3 separate regions of the Homo sapiens genome follow, and regions 2 and 3 are each linked to region 1. Evidence: promoter capture Hi-C in 16 types of primary human blood cells and fetal thymus (Javierre and others, 2016). All regions are on one chromosome and are shown on one strand. The core of a region is centred on a gene start or on the middle of the fragment in contact, and the rest is flanking DNA. Distances in the headings are between cores, read along the strand shown. Region 1 holds the start of CDC7 (cell division cycle 7). Region 2 overlaps RPAP2 (RNA polymerase II associated protein 2). Region 3 holds the start of GFI1 (growth factor independent 1 transcriptional repressor).

What was found. The method cuts DNA at HindIII sites, captures the fragments that hold promoters and counts their contacts. A CHiCAGO score of 5 or more calls a contact.
Region 2: a fragment that was not itself captured here is called in contact with the fragment with the promoter of CDC7 in region 1 in 2 of 17 cell types (fetal thymus and total CD4 T cells); the score reaches 6.7 in fetal thymus.
Region 3: the fragment with the promoter of GFI1 here is called in contact with the fragment with the promoter of CDC7 in region 1 in 3 of 17 cell types (fetal thymus, total CD4 T cells and naive CD8 T cells); the score reaches 8.5 in fetal thymus.

Annotation. Positions count from the first base shown.
Region 1 is chr1:91,497,649-91,502,288 of GRCh38, forward strand. It overlaps CDC7 (cell division cycle 7), which reads left to right and starts at 3,203. Exons shown (of 12, transcript NM_003503.4): 1 at 3,203-3,300; 2 at 4,006-4,183. The coding sequence starts at 4,069. It overlaps LOC105378856 (a long non-coding RNA gene), which reads right to left and starts at 3,200. Exons shown (of 3, transcript XR_947599.4): 1 at 867-3,200. RefSeq lists an enhancer at 3,845-4,044. The HindIII fragment of the contact is 5,865 bases long and covers 1-4,501 here.
Region 2 is chr1:92,309,227-92,313,557 of GRCh38, forward strand. All of the region lies in intron 6 of RPAP2 (RNA polymerase II associated protein 2), which reads left to right. It also overlaps a transcript of GLMN not described here. Among named protein-coding and RNA genes, the nearest start is that of RPAP2, 12 kb to the left of the region's middle. The HindIII fragment of the contact is 1,151 bases long and covers 1,132-2,282 here.
Region 3 is chr1:92,484,911-92,489,420 of GRCh38, forward strand. GFI1 (growth factor independent 1 transcriptional repressor) reads right to left here and starts at 2,015. Exons shown (of 7, transcript NM_005263.5): 1 at 1,816-2,015. RefSeq lists silencers at 592-771, 972-1,021, 1,642-1,751, 1,842-2,051 and enhancers at 599-1,199, 1,122-1,271, 2,172-2,221. The HindIII fragment of the contact is 3,142 bases long and covers 1,237-4,378 here.

The sequences.
Region 1 (4,640 bases), core at 1,953-4,452:
GGATGCAGAGATAGAAACAAAAGACAAAAAGACACACACACACACACACACACACACACACACACACACACACATGCACATGCAGCACAAACAGACCTGGAGGCAGAATAAACATGTTATGAAGGAAAAATGGTAAAGGCACTGGTCTGACCCTAAAGAAAACTGTGTGTATGTAGTTATCAACATCTCTAAATAATAATTTTTATTAAACAATCTATCTCCACCTCCAATCTGCTTACAGGAGACATAAGTGCAACCAACCATTTGAAACCTAATGTCTAGCTGAGCATGGTGACATACAGCTGTAATCCTTGCTACTTGGGACGCTGTGGCAGGAGAATTGCTTGAGCCTCGGAGCTATAGTGATTCATGATCATGCCACTGCATTTTAGCCTGGGCAACAGAGCGAGACTCTGTCTCTACTAAGTAAATACATAAATGAATGAATAATAAAAATAAATAAATAAAACCTAACTTCTCATTGTACATTAATTCCATAGCCATTTATTAAATCCATACTATGTGAACAGCCATGTGCTAGGTATTAGGGATGGGATCATTGACAAAGGGGGAAAAAGTACCCATTATAAATTAACTAATACAAGCTAACAATGTCCAGGCCTATGGGACCAAGCACTTTACATGTATTATGTCACTTTATCTAATTTAATCCCTATAGCAAAACCAAGCAAGTATTTTATCCATGTTACATTTTTGAAATAGGAGTGTCACAGATATTGAATAACTTGCCCAAGTTACACGGCTAGTATAAAGTTTATAAACAATTTGACACTGTAGCCACTATTCTATTTGTGCGCCCTACCCCCCAATAAAGACAAGAAACCAAACTAAGAAACAAACCAAACCTCAAGAGTTGTCTCCATTTGTAGATCTTTTGTTCGTCAATAAATTCAATATAGTCTTTCTGTCTCACTCCAAAGCTGCTCTTTCTGAAGGCTCTAATGACTATCTCTGATCAATTCTGTATCCTCACTACTTCTGTGAAGCATTTGCTATAGCTGACCACTTTCTTCTAATTGTAAAACTTTCTGCTCTTGACTTCTATGACATCACCTTCTTACCTCACAGACTACTACTTCTCAGTCTCTTGCTGGTTCTTCCTCCTCCTCTGCTCAACTATGAAATGTTGGAAGTTATCATAGCCCAACTCTCCATCTACAATCTTTGCTTAGATAATATCGTATAGTCCAAGACTAGGTTTCATCTATAAATTCATAACTGCCAAGTTTATTTCTTCACCCTGAACTATACCCCAGACCAATATATTCATCTGTTTCTTTGACATCATCACTTGCATATCTTGGACTTGATTATTGTTAACGACCTCCCGATAATGACCACCAGGAACACAACTATAGCTGAGCAACTTGGATGTATTGCTTGTTTCAGTACGTGAGAATGCACACCATGGGGAACCATGGGATGTCTTAGGAAGAGGGTGTTAAAAAGGACTTGTTATAGAATTTGAGTTTGTGTTAGGAGATTTACGGAAGGGTGCAAGAAAGAGGGACTTTGGCCTGGATTGGAAGCTGTAAGGAAGCAAGGATAATTCTATAATTGGGTATTTTAATAAGTATTATGTAGAAGGAAGGAAGACTAGACTGAGGTTAAAACTATAATTGGTAAAGAAGCAGCAGGCACTCATATTAGCTAGGATAAGGAGATATTTGATCATTTTTATGGCTTGGGCAATGTTGATGTTGTGTCTGTGTTCACATATGATTATAGAGTGATCTTACTTTTGTCTTGATCTATCACGGTCACAACTCTGTCTTGTCTGATGTTCTGTGAAATTGTTTATGTTCAACAGAAGAATACCAATGCTTGGCTGTGATTGCCAGGCCAGCTCAAAGCAACAGCAAACCAAGCTGGTAGTACCAGGCCATCTCCTGGATGTCAAGGTCTGCTTTTCTCTTTCTCGGTATCCACACTAGAATCCTTGATTTACTCTCTTCCACCTCACTCAATCAAAAACCATTACCTCACAGACTTCCCTTCTATGTGGCACTACCACCCACACATATGCTAGCCCAAAACCTAAGATTCACTGTTGATGATGCCCTTTTCTTCATTTTCCATAGCCAATCACCAAATCCCATTGTCTTCTTTCTTTTATTTCTTCCGCCATTGTTCTGGTCCAAACTACCATTATGTTTCTCCTAAACATAAAGTGCATCCTATTTCCTCTGCTTCCACACTTGCCCCTCTACAATCCATTCTCTTCATAACAGATAGATCATATTACTCCCTTGCTTTAAAACTTTCAAATAGCTTCCAATTGTACTCAGAACAAACACTAAACTTCTTACCCTGGCTTTCAAGGACCCTGGTCTGGCTTCTGCCTAACTCTCCACCTTCATCTATCTGGGACTATCTTGCGGCTCACTCACTATGCTTCCCCCACACTGGCCTTTCCTGCCCTGCCCCTGCAACATACCAAGTTCCTCTTTCTCTCTGCATTTGCCCTATCCTTTCTTTGCCAGGACAACAGTCTCCCTACCAGCTCTTTCTCATCCAGGTCTCTTTGAGAGGGCTTCCCTGACCATCTAGATGCCACCTTCCTGGTCAGTATTTCCCTCAAGTAGTAATCAATGCCGGAAAGAATACTGTTCATTTATTCATCCGTTATTGTCATCGCTTCATTGGAATTTAGCTTCCTACAGGGATGGTGTTTATCTTGCTCACTATGATTCCAGCCCCTAGAAAAACCCACCTACCTCATAGCCAAGGGCTCAGTAAATAGTATACACTGCCTTCCTGCCACTGTGCTAATTTCTACTAACACAGCCACAAACAATCAGCAATTACATTTTCTGCTTGTTTTTAACGGGGAAGTAGGGCACTCAACGAAAAGGAAATAAAAGCAGAGTCAAGAAAGTGCCTTTTATCCATGGAGTGCCCAATGTGTTGTGCGGCCGGCCACGTATATAGGGATGTGTCAGCACCTGAGATTTTTCCTTCTCTGAGCTAGCTTCTTTCCTGGAAATCATGCTGGGCCCTTAGCCTTATGGTTCACCCTGTTTTTTAAGATCATCCACGGGCTTCATTCCCGTAACCGCTCTTCTAGCTGGCCAAGGCGGCGGGAAGAAACCCCACCCTCTTGCGCAAACGCCCAGTAGCGGAATCCGCGGGGTCGAGGGCTTTAGTGTGCGCATGTGCAACCAGAGCGGCGGCGGGAAGTGTTGCGCAGGCGCATCCGATCGACTCGGTAGGTGGGGATCTCTTGGAGACGGCGACCCAGGCATCTGGGGAGCCACAGAAGTCGTACTCCCTTAAACCGTGAGTTTCCGACGGTTTGTTCCATGGCGCGGGATTGTGAGGGATTAGGAACGAATTCTGGATCGTGACTTCGGTTTTCTCGCCGTGCAGTTCCTTTTCCCGCCCCCCTTCGGATCCCTCCGACCTGCGGCGGGAAAGTCGCGCGCCTGCGCACTAAGCATCTGGTTCGGTCTCTGGCCCGAGGGAAGCCGGTCCTTCCCGGCTGAGCTCGCGGCCAGCGCTGGCCGGCGGATTCCCATTCATTCACCCTTCTCCTCCTCCGCCCAGTACTCGTGGCCAGGGTCGTATCAGTTCTCCGTCAACTTGCTTGGGGCCTTGGACGAGCCTCCTGGCGCTTCCTGTCAGTGGCGAAAAGGTTTTCTCCCTCAGTTCTTTTCCTGACTTCAAACCGCCCCCGGCGCTCGGCCCCTCCCCCACGCGGTCCCGCTGGCTGTGCCGGACTGGCAGCCTCGCCGTTTCCCACTGCGCCTGCTGCTGCGCGGGTGCCCAAGCCGGGAAATTCTCCCTGCAGCCCCCTGCCGGTGTTTCTGATAGGTGAAAATAAAGCACATGGAATTCCTTAGACAAGGCCACAGTATGCCCTACTGTGGAGGTTTGGACACATCGTGCGTTTGAAAATGTTTGCCCCTTTGGGGGGCAGTAGCATGTTTTTAGTGCGTGGTTTAGCGAGTGATCTAAATTTCTCTAGTGTTCTAATTTTCACAGCTGCTTTGCTCCCCCTGTGGATGTAACCCCTTAGCTGGCATTTTGCATCTCAATTGGCTTGTGATGGAGGCGTCTTTGGGGATTCAGATGGATGAGCCAATGGCTTTTTCTCCCCAGCGTGACCGGTTTCAGGCTGAAGGCTCTTTAAAAAAAAACGAGCAGAATTTTAAACTTGCAGGTACGTGTTTAAATCCAAAGATGTACAGTTATAAAGATTTTTCAGGCAACAATTCTGTGTTTTCAATTCCTCTCAAAAAATAAGATTGAATCTTATAAAGTGAATTGTATGTTTCTATAGGACAGTGTTAAAACAGAGCTTCGTATGATCTAAATGTAGGACTGAATTGCGATTTGGAAGACTGTAATACAACCTGTTTTACGGTTGAAGTTGCTATGGTCTCAGTATTGGTAATTAAGAATGCAGAAATTTGATGATGCCCAAATTAAATTTCTCTTTTGTATCTGTGTTCTTATCTCTACTCACCACATTGCCTTAAGCTTAAATGTAGAAATTGACACTGGAGATCATCACTTAAGTATTCAAAAGCAGAACTCACAGACAAAAAAATATGAAATGTTTGTAGCAATAATAAAGCACCATATCTCAGTGTACAGCATGAAATGTTCTTTGACCG
Region 2 (4,331 bases), core at 457-2,956, 810 kb after region 1:
AGGTCAAGAGATCGAGACCATCCTGGCCAACATGGTGAAACCCTGTCTCTACTAAAAATACAAAAATTAGCTGGACGTGGTGACACATGCCTGTAGTCTCAGCTACTCAGGAGGCTGAGGTAGGAGAATTGCTTGAACCTGGGAGGCGGAGGTTGCAGTGAGCTGAGATCGTGCCACTGCACTCCAGCCTGGTGACAGAGCAAGACTCCATCTCAAAAAAAAAAAAATGGACTTTGTTTCTCTAATCTAAATGAATCAACTTAATTTACATTTAAATTGTGCAGTAAGTGCTTAGTACCTGGCAGGCTACACACATACACATACACATACACATACACATACACATATACATATACATACACATACACATACACATACACATACACATACACATACACATATACAAGTATAAAACCCAACCTGTGAATTTAACAATCACTGGATGCCAGAACATGAATTAAACAAGTTTGTGTTGACTTTAATGGGGACCTGTCCTATAAATTAGCAAGGTTAGGACATTGCATAATGAGAAACTGTGAGCAAAAGTGAGAAAATAAACTTGTGGGAATGGGTTGGGATATTGAACATTGGCCCACTTGAAATTTGGGAAACGAGAAGATAACAATAGGTAAATAACAAAGGGCCAGGCTGAGTGTGGTAAACCCTCAAGTATTGGGGAGCCATCAAATGTTTTTGAGCAGAATTTATTCTGATATTGGTGTACAAAATGAATTAAAGAAGAATCATAATTAAAAGAGCTAAAAGGGTCCTTAGAGAGATTTAATCCAACCCCTTCATTAAGTGTATTTCTTAAACTAGTGATCCGTATGAGACCAGGATTCTATTTATTATATTCCACTTGATTAGAAGGAAACAGTGAATAATCTATATATATGCATCTGCCTCATTGTATAGCATAACTGTAGCCCTTAATTATATATAACACTTGTCAGTGTATAACCATATCAGTATCTTTTATATCTGGATGCATTTGTGTTACCTTAATTTCCAAATTCTTAGGGGCAGGGATTATGTCCATGCTATTTAATGAATCCACTAGAGGTCACTGTTTTTTCAGACATCTTTTTACCTGTGCCAAGGATCAGAATTCTAGAATTTTGTATTTTTAAAAGCTTGTCTAGCTATTGCACATTTAAGCTCTACAGAAATGTGATATTTTAAAGAATGTCTGTTTACATATGGCATGGGATACAATATCCTGAGTCAGTCTTCCTTTAGGGAGGAAAAAATTGCTTCTTTTAAATGGTGGCATGTAGTATTTAATGCAGAGATATTTTTATTAGCTTACAATGAGTCATGATAAAGAATAAATTGCATCATAATAGTAATTTTAATAATCATAATTTTAAAATAATAATAAATTTTTATGGCCAGGTGTGGTGACTCACGCCCGTAATCCCAGCATTTGGGAGGCCGAGACTGGTGGATCACCTGAGGTCAGGAGTTCAAGATCAGCCTGGCCAACATGACAAAACCCTATCTCTACTAAAAATATAAAAATTAGCCAGGAGTGCTGGAACATGCCTGTAGCCCCAGCTACTTGGGAGGCTGAGTAAGAAGAACCGCTTGAACCTGGGAGGCAGAGGTTGCAGTGAGCCGAGATCACACCATTGCGCTCCAGCCTGGGCAACAGAACGAGACTAAGAATAAATTGTTAAATCCACCCAAAAGATTAGATATCTTATTGAAATGACTTCCAAACTTTCGACCACTATAATAAGTGCATTTTACATTATCTCATATATGCATATAACTAAAACTAAAGCAAAACTTCTGTGAAACAATATTATTCTTACTACATGAAATGCCTCTGATATTTTCTACTCTGTTGCTTTTTTAAAATGCTGGCAGCAACCTACTTAATTGATTGGTCCTGATCTGCAGTTTGAAGAGCGCTGTTTTGTTGGATTTAGCTCACGTTTTTGGTTGTTTTACTGTAGGAAACCTGCTTCTCAACACTAAGTCTCAGTTTCCTCATTTGTAAAAGGAAAAAGTTGCATTCAACTTCCGAGTTCCCTTTGGTTCTAATGATTTACAGTTCTAAGCCAATTGTGTCATTAGTCATTGCTACTATAGAGAAAGTTTTCTACATAAGGAAATATTTATTAAAATGATGAAAATTAAAATTATCTGCTTAAGACTAGAGAAACTTATACTACCTTGTAGAAAGGTCTGTCTCAATAATTTTGAATAAAGTTACTGACTTTAATAATTTGATCTCTTTAGTCTGTAAAAGTGAAGGCTGATAAAATGTAGATCAAAGCTTTTAAATTATGAAGAAAAACCAGGCATGTTTTAGAGCATGTCCTGAACAATTTGAACTTGGCATCACTGAGGATGCCATGACCTTACACACCATTTGGAAACAGAATATTGAATTTGACCTAATTTGGTCTTTCTTACATTATTGTGAAAGCCAGTAAGTACAGGCATATCTTGGAGATATTGCAGGTTTGGTTCCAGACCACCACTATACTAAAGCAATAAAGCAATCATGGATTTTGTTTCCCAGTGTATGCAAAAGTTATGTTTCCACTATACTGTAGTCTTTTAAATGTGCAGTAGCGTTATATCTTTAAAAAATAATGTACATACCTTAATTTTAAAATATTTTATTGCTTAAAGATGCTACTGATCATCTGAGCCTTCAGCAAGTATTAATCTTTTTGCTGGTGAAGGGTCCTGTTTTGATGTGGATGGCTGCTAACTGATCAGGGTGGTGGTGTCTATAGGTTGGGATGGCTGTGGTAATTTGTTGAAATAAGACAACCCCAGGTTTGCTGCACTGATCGACTTCCTTTCACTAAAGATTTCTCTGTAGCATTAGATGCTGTTTGATAGCATTTTACCCACAGCAGAACATCTTTCAAAATTGGAGTCCGGCCAGGAGCAGTGACTTATGCCTGTAATCCCAGCATTGTTGCGGGGCAAGGCAGGAGGATCACTTAAACAAGACATTTGAGACCAGCCTGGGCAACATAGAGGGACCCATCTCTACAAAGTATTTAAAAAATAAAAAATTAGCTGGGTGTGGTGGCACACAACTGTAGTCCTTGTAGCTACTTGGGATGCTGAGACTAGAAGATCACTTGAGCATAGGAGTTCATGGTTGCAGTGAGTTAGATCACACCACTGCACTCCAGCCTTGGCAACAGAGCAAGACCGTGTCTCAAAAAAAAAAAAAAATTGAAGTCAGTCCTCTCAAACTTCATTGCTGCTTATCAGCTAAGTTTATGGAATATTCTAAATCTTGTGTTACCATTTCAACGATGTTGACAGCACCTTCATCAGGAGTAGATTCCATCTCAAGAAACCAGTTTCTTTGCCTATCCATAAGAAGCAGCTGTATATCCGTTCAAGTTGGATTATGAGATTGATGCAATTCAGTCACATCTTCAAGCTCCACTTCTAATTCTTATCTTGCTATTTCCACCATATCCATAGTGACTACCTCTACGGAAGTCTTGAACCCCTCAAAGTCATCCATTAGGGTTACAATCAACTTCTTCCAAGCACTTGTTAATGTTGATATTTTGGCCTCCTCCCATGAATCCCAAATGTTCTTTTTTTTTTTTTCCTTTTTTCTTTTTTTCAGACAGAGTCTCACTCTGTCACCCAGGCTGGAGTGCAGTGGCGCGATCTTGGCTCACTACAACCTCTGCCTCCTCAGTTCAGTGGCGAAATCTCAGCTCACTGCAACCTCTACCTCCCAGGCTCAAGCGATTCTCATGCCTCAGCCTCCCAAGTAGCTGGGACCACAGGCATGCGCCACCACACCCGGCTTATTTTTGTATTTTTAGTAGAGATGGGGGTTTTGCCATGTTGGCCAGGCTGGTCTCGAACTCCTGGCCCCAAGTAATCCACGCACCTTGGCTTCCCAAAGTGTTGGGATTACAGGCATGAGCCACTGTGCCCACTCCCAAATGTTCTTAATGACATCTAGAATGGTGAATCCTTTCGTGAAGGATTTCTATTTACTTTGCCCAAATCCATCAGAGGAATCACTCTATGGCAACTATACCTTTAGGAAATGTATGTCTTAAGACTTGAAAGTTGAAATTACTCCTTGACCCATGGGCTGCAGAATGGATATTGTGTTAGCAGGCATGAAAACAACACTAATCTTGTACATTTGCATCAGAGTTCTTGGGTGGCTAGGTACATTGTTAATAATCAGTAATATTTGGAAAGGAATCTTTTTTTTTTTTTTGAGCAGTAGGTTTCAACAGTTGGCTTAAAATATTCAGTAAGCCATGCTGTAAACAGATGTGCAGTCGTTTAGGCTTTGCTGTTCCATTTATGGAACACAA
Region 3 (4,510 bases), core at 765-3,264, 990 kb after region 1:
CCTCCGGCTTCGCGCTGTTTCCACTGCCGGACTAGGAGCCCCTCGGCTTCCTAGGCAAGATGCAGGCCACACAGTCTACGTCTGTCCGTTGGCGCTCTCAGCTCAAACGAGTCCTACAGGCCTTGGTCCCTGTAGGGTGCAGGCCCCCTGCTCCAGATCCCCAGCCCCATTGTGTCCCCTTCTCCGGAGGAATGGGAATAGACCTGGGAGAAAAGACGCCTGGGACGTGTCGCGGGGCTCCCGCGAAGTTTCCCGCTACCCAAGCGCCAGAATGCCCCTAGGGGTGAGAGTGCCATCCGCCTCCCTCCGGGGTGGCTCCTAGGGCTAGAGCTTTGTCGCTTCCTGCACTTCTCGTCCGTACAATTAGACGCCACAAACCCCAAACCCAATTCTTTAAACAGCCACGAAACTCGGAAGAAAAGAAAAACGGAGTGGCGTTGTCCCGAGGGTCCCGCTGCAGCTTGGACCCACGTTGGCTGGGAGCGGGACAGATGGGGGCGGGGTAACTGTCAGCGCCGGAGCTGGGTCTGGGCTGGCGCCACCAGAGACCAGGCGGACGCGGAGGCCGCCTCCCCACCCGGGCTGTAAGCCCACGCCTCTCTCGCACCCCGGCCCGCTTTGCTGGTTCCTGTGGGGAGCGACAGAGTTTGGAGGAGATAGGGGCCCCGGGGCCTGGGCCGAGCGCGTGGGAAGGCAACCCCGCGCTGCAGCTGGCGCGGGAGGTGGGGCGGCCCCTCCGCGCGCTCAGGCCTCTCCTCACCGTCCGGGCCCAGGAAGGAGGGAGCCGAGGGCGCTAAGGGGGCGTCCTCCCGAGCGCAGCTGCCGCCGCCTCCCCACCAGATGTTTCCTTCCCTGGTGGATTTGGCTCCCCTGCCGAACCACCAGACCGCCTGCTGCGCGCCCCCAGCTCCAGATTTCCAGTCACACTGCGCGGGTCGCGCCCTAACCCAGCTGCCGGAGCTCTCTGGGCTCCCGCACGGCGGTCCGCAGCAGGTGGGAAACCGCCCGCGCCCTCTGATCGCCCCCGCAGTGCCAGTGCTCTGCGAGTCCCCGCGGCCGCCCCCACCAGGGCAGGAGGCGCAGAACAGGCTCGGCGGACCTACCTGCGGAGTCACGGCGCGGGCACCGCGCTAGGAGAGTTTTCAAACGGAATCTTGCTTTCGGGAGAGACCGCTCTATCTCTCTGACTTAAAAAAAAAAAAAATTCTCCTTCCGAGCTCAGCCCCCAAAACCACAAGCTTCACTTCCTGAGCGTTACTGAGTCGCTCGCATAGCCCTCCCAGACCTGCTCCCAACCCCCGTCGGGCGGCCGGGCGCGCTCCTTTGCGCAAGTGGCCAGGCGGTGGGGGGCCTGGCCTTTCCAGCCCGTCCCGCGCGCCCCTTAGTAGTCCTCCCAGTTCTCTCCCTGTGGGTCGGCAGGGGATGGGGGAAATTGGAGGTCCGGACACTTAGGCACTAGAAATGACTTGAAAGAAAATGAACTATTCTTGGCTCCAGGGAGACTTCCGCAGCGAGAGAAGCCACAGATTGAGGACACAGATTGACTGGCGAGAGAGGGGTGGGGGGCGCCCCGCTCCGAGGACCCTCCCCGCCCCTCAGGCCTCGGTCACCCGCCCCCCCCACCCCCGACCCCGCCGCCTCCTAGGGCTGCACCACCCCCGGGTCGGGACCGTGAATCACCGGCCCGCGGTGCCGCCGGCCTGGAGCCCGGCGAGTGGCCACGGCGTCCGCAGAGCGAAACCTGCCCCGCAGGCCCCGAAATAGCTTGTTGTGGAAACACTTGGGGATAAATACGCCCAACGAGGCTGAAAATACCTTGACACCCAATCCGAGAGGTTTGCTCATTTCCCTTCGGATTTAGGTAATGGTTAAATTTGGAAGAGGTGGGCGAGCGCCGAGCCCCCGGCGGAGAGGGCCCTGGCGGCGCGTCCCGCGGGCGCCCGGCGGGACCGGTGGGCGCACCCTCCCTGCGCGGAGCTCGCCGGCTCTCGACCGGGTCCGCTCAGCCTTCGACTAATTTCCGGTGGTCGGAGCTGCAAAATTAAAGGCCGCGCGGGGGCAGCGCCGGCGGCTGCTAGGCTGACTCCGCCCTGCCGGGGCAAGCCAGGGAGAGCGGGACCTCGCACGCGGGCTCTGCCACCGCCTGAGGTCATACCCAGGCACTGGGTGTTGGCGGGAGCAGTAAAGCGCCATAAAAGCACCACTTGGATGACTATTGCAAAGTAAGCCTTCTTCGCTCGGATTCTATGTTTCATGAGGGTAGGCACTGGATCTTCATCTTTATGTCCTAGGCGGGCTCTTAACAAAAGGCTGTGGACTGAGTAAATGAATGAGTGGGGTTAATTAACTAATTAATTATATTAATAGAACAGGGGGAAAAAACTTAAAACCTAACTCATAGATACATGAACAAATGCAGCAACCTCCAACGCTAGACTGTATGCCATGACCCATAGTGTGTGGCCTGCTGTGTATACTCAAAGCCTACACCCTTTGCTCATTGGAGTGGATGGATGTTGTAGTCATGTTACTTTTCAAAATGAATTGACTTGGATTTTGATCACAACTTCGTGCACAATAGGCCTCCAATGTCAGACATGCACAAGGAGAAGAGAGTGGTGCTCCCCAGTTCTTGCAAAATAACTACCATGTTCTAGGTTAATCTTAAATTGTTATGGGGGGGGAAGCCCTTAAAGCTCTTTTTCTAGAAACAGTTTTTAAATTATTCTTATTTTGCACTGTAAATTTAAAATTTTGCAGGGAATATTTGGTTAGTATAGCAGTGCTTCGAGCATGTATTAATAAATTATACGTTTTGTTAAGCAATGACCTGTGCCCCTATTGTATGCCAGGCGCTGGGCAAATCTTGTCTGCCTAGCTGTCCTCCTTCATTTGCTCAACACATCCCTTCTTTATATATAAATGCAGAGGCAAGCAATTTTGGTCAGAAAGGAAAATTAAGGACATTTTGTTAATATTTTATTTCTTGTGTGCTTTGTCCTGGCCTAAGGTATAAAAATCTCACAGTAGTGCAAAAACAAATCTTTCCCTTATTCCCTTCTCTCCTACTCGATAGCAGAAAAAAACAAATTTTTAGAATAAAATTATAAATGGGACAAAATAAAATTTCTTATCAACCAAGTTCTAGAGAAATGGTTGGACTATTTCCTTTGCATATTAGCAAGTTCAAAGTCAAAATTTCTCGAAAAGGTGCTGTGACTATTTTATAGTTTAGTTGAGTGTTGCTGTTTGAAGTCTCAGAAAACTTGAGGGAGCCCATGAAGGGGGCAGATAAGCACCTTGAGCAGTGAGCAGTATCACCTTAGAATAAATCCCTTTCATTCAGATTTAGTCTAGTCATTTTGCTTTTCATTTGCCCTTCACAGACTCTTGGGATTTCTGAGTTTGAAAAAGAAAACTGAGAACTGGAACAGGGACACGCAGAAAGGAGCAGGTGGGAGGGAGATGGCACTGAATTTCCCTTTATGTCTTTTACATGTTGAACCATGTGTATGTAGTACTAACTCAAATAAATAAATACACATTTAAAAAGTATTTAACAAGTATTCAACACGTTTAAAAAGTATTTAACAATACTTTTTAACAACACAACACTCCCGGGTGTATAGTGTTGAAGTGTGACTCCCACACTTGGGGAAGAATAGGAGAAAGGTAAGAAGAGGGGAACCCAGAGAGGTTAAGAACCTTGCCAAGGACAGTGAAGAGCTAGGACTAGAAATAACGATACAATGAACCCATCTCTGACTTCCTGCTACTCCAAACTACCTCTTGCTTCTATTAAACTAAGGGCAAAGAGAATAAGCCACCCCTCCATGAACATTTTTAGAAGCTACAAATACTCCCTCTCCCTCCATATATTCCTTTGGAATTGAAATAGATCTAATGGTAAGCAAAATGTATACCTGAGGCACAATTTTCTATAAATAGGGTCTTTCCAAAGGAATAATTTTACATTTACTGCCTTTTCAATAATTTGAAACTAATTGTTTCAAATATTTAGAAACTAATTGTTTCTAAATAGCAATAATAATGTATCTGTCGATGCCAAATAACAACTGACCTTCTCATACCACAAACATTTCCAAGCCTTGGCCAGTAGCCCATTTATTTCAAGCAGCCTCTCATAGATCAGAATTTCCCTACAACAGAAGATTTGAGACATTAAAAAAAAAAAAGTGGAGATGGAGTCTCGTTATGTTGCCTAGGCTGGTCTCAAACTCCTGGCCTCAAATGATCCTCCTGCCTCAGCCTCCCAAAATGCTGGGATTACAGGCGTGAACCACTGTGCCTGGCTGAGACATTTTCAAAAAGAAAATTGTAACAGGATATTACCAGTATCTTGTTTATTTTTTCACAAAGCTTTACAATTATGATCTCTGTCCTTTGTGGGACGGCATGGGAAAAGTGGGTGATCCTGAAACCCCAGGGAGGGGCAATACCCCCATTTCCAGAATACATTTCTATGTTTGCCTCATTTGATTCTCACCAT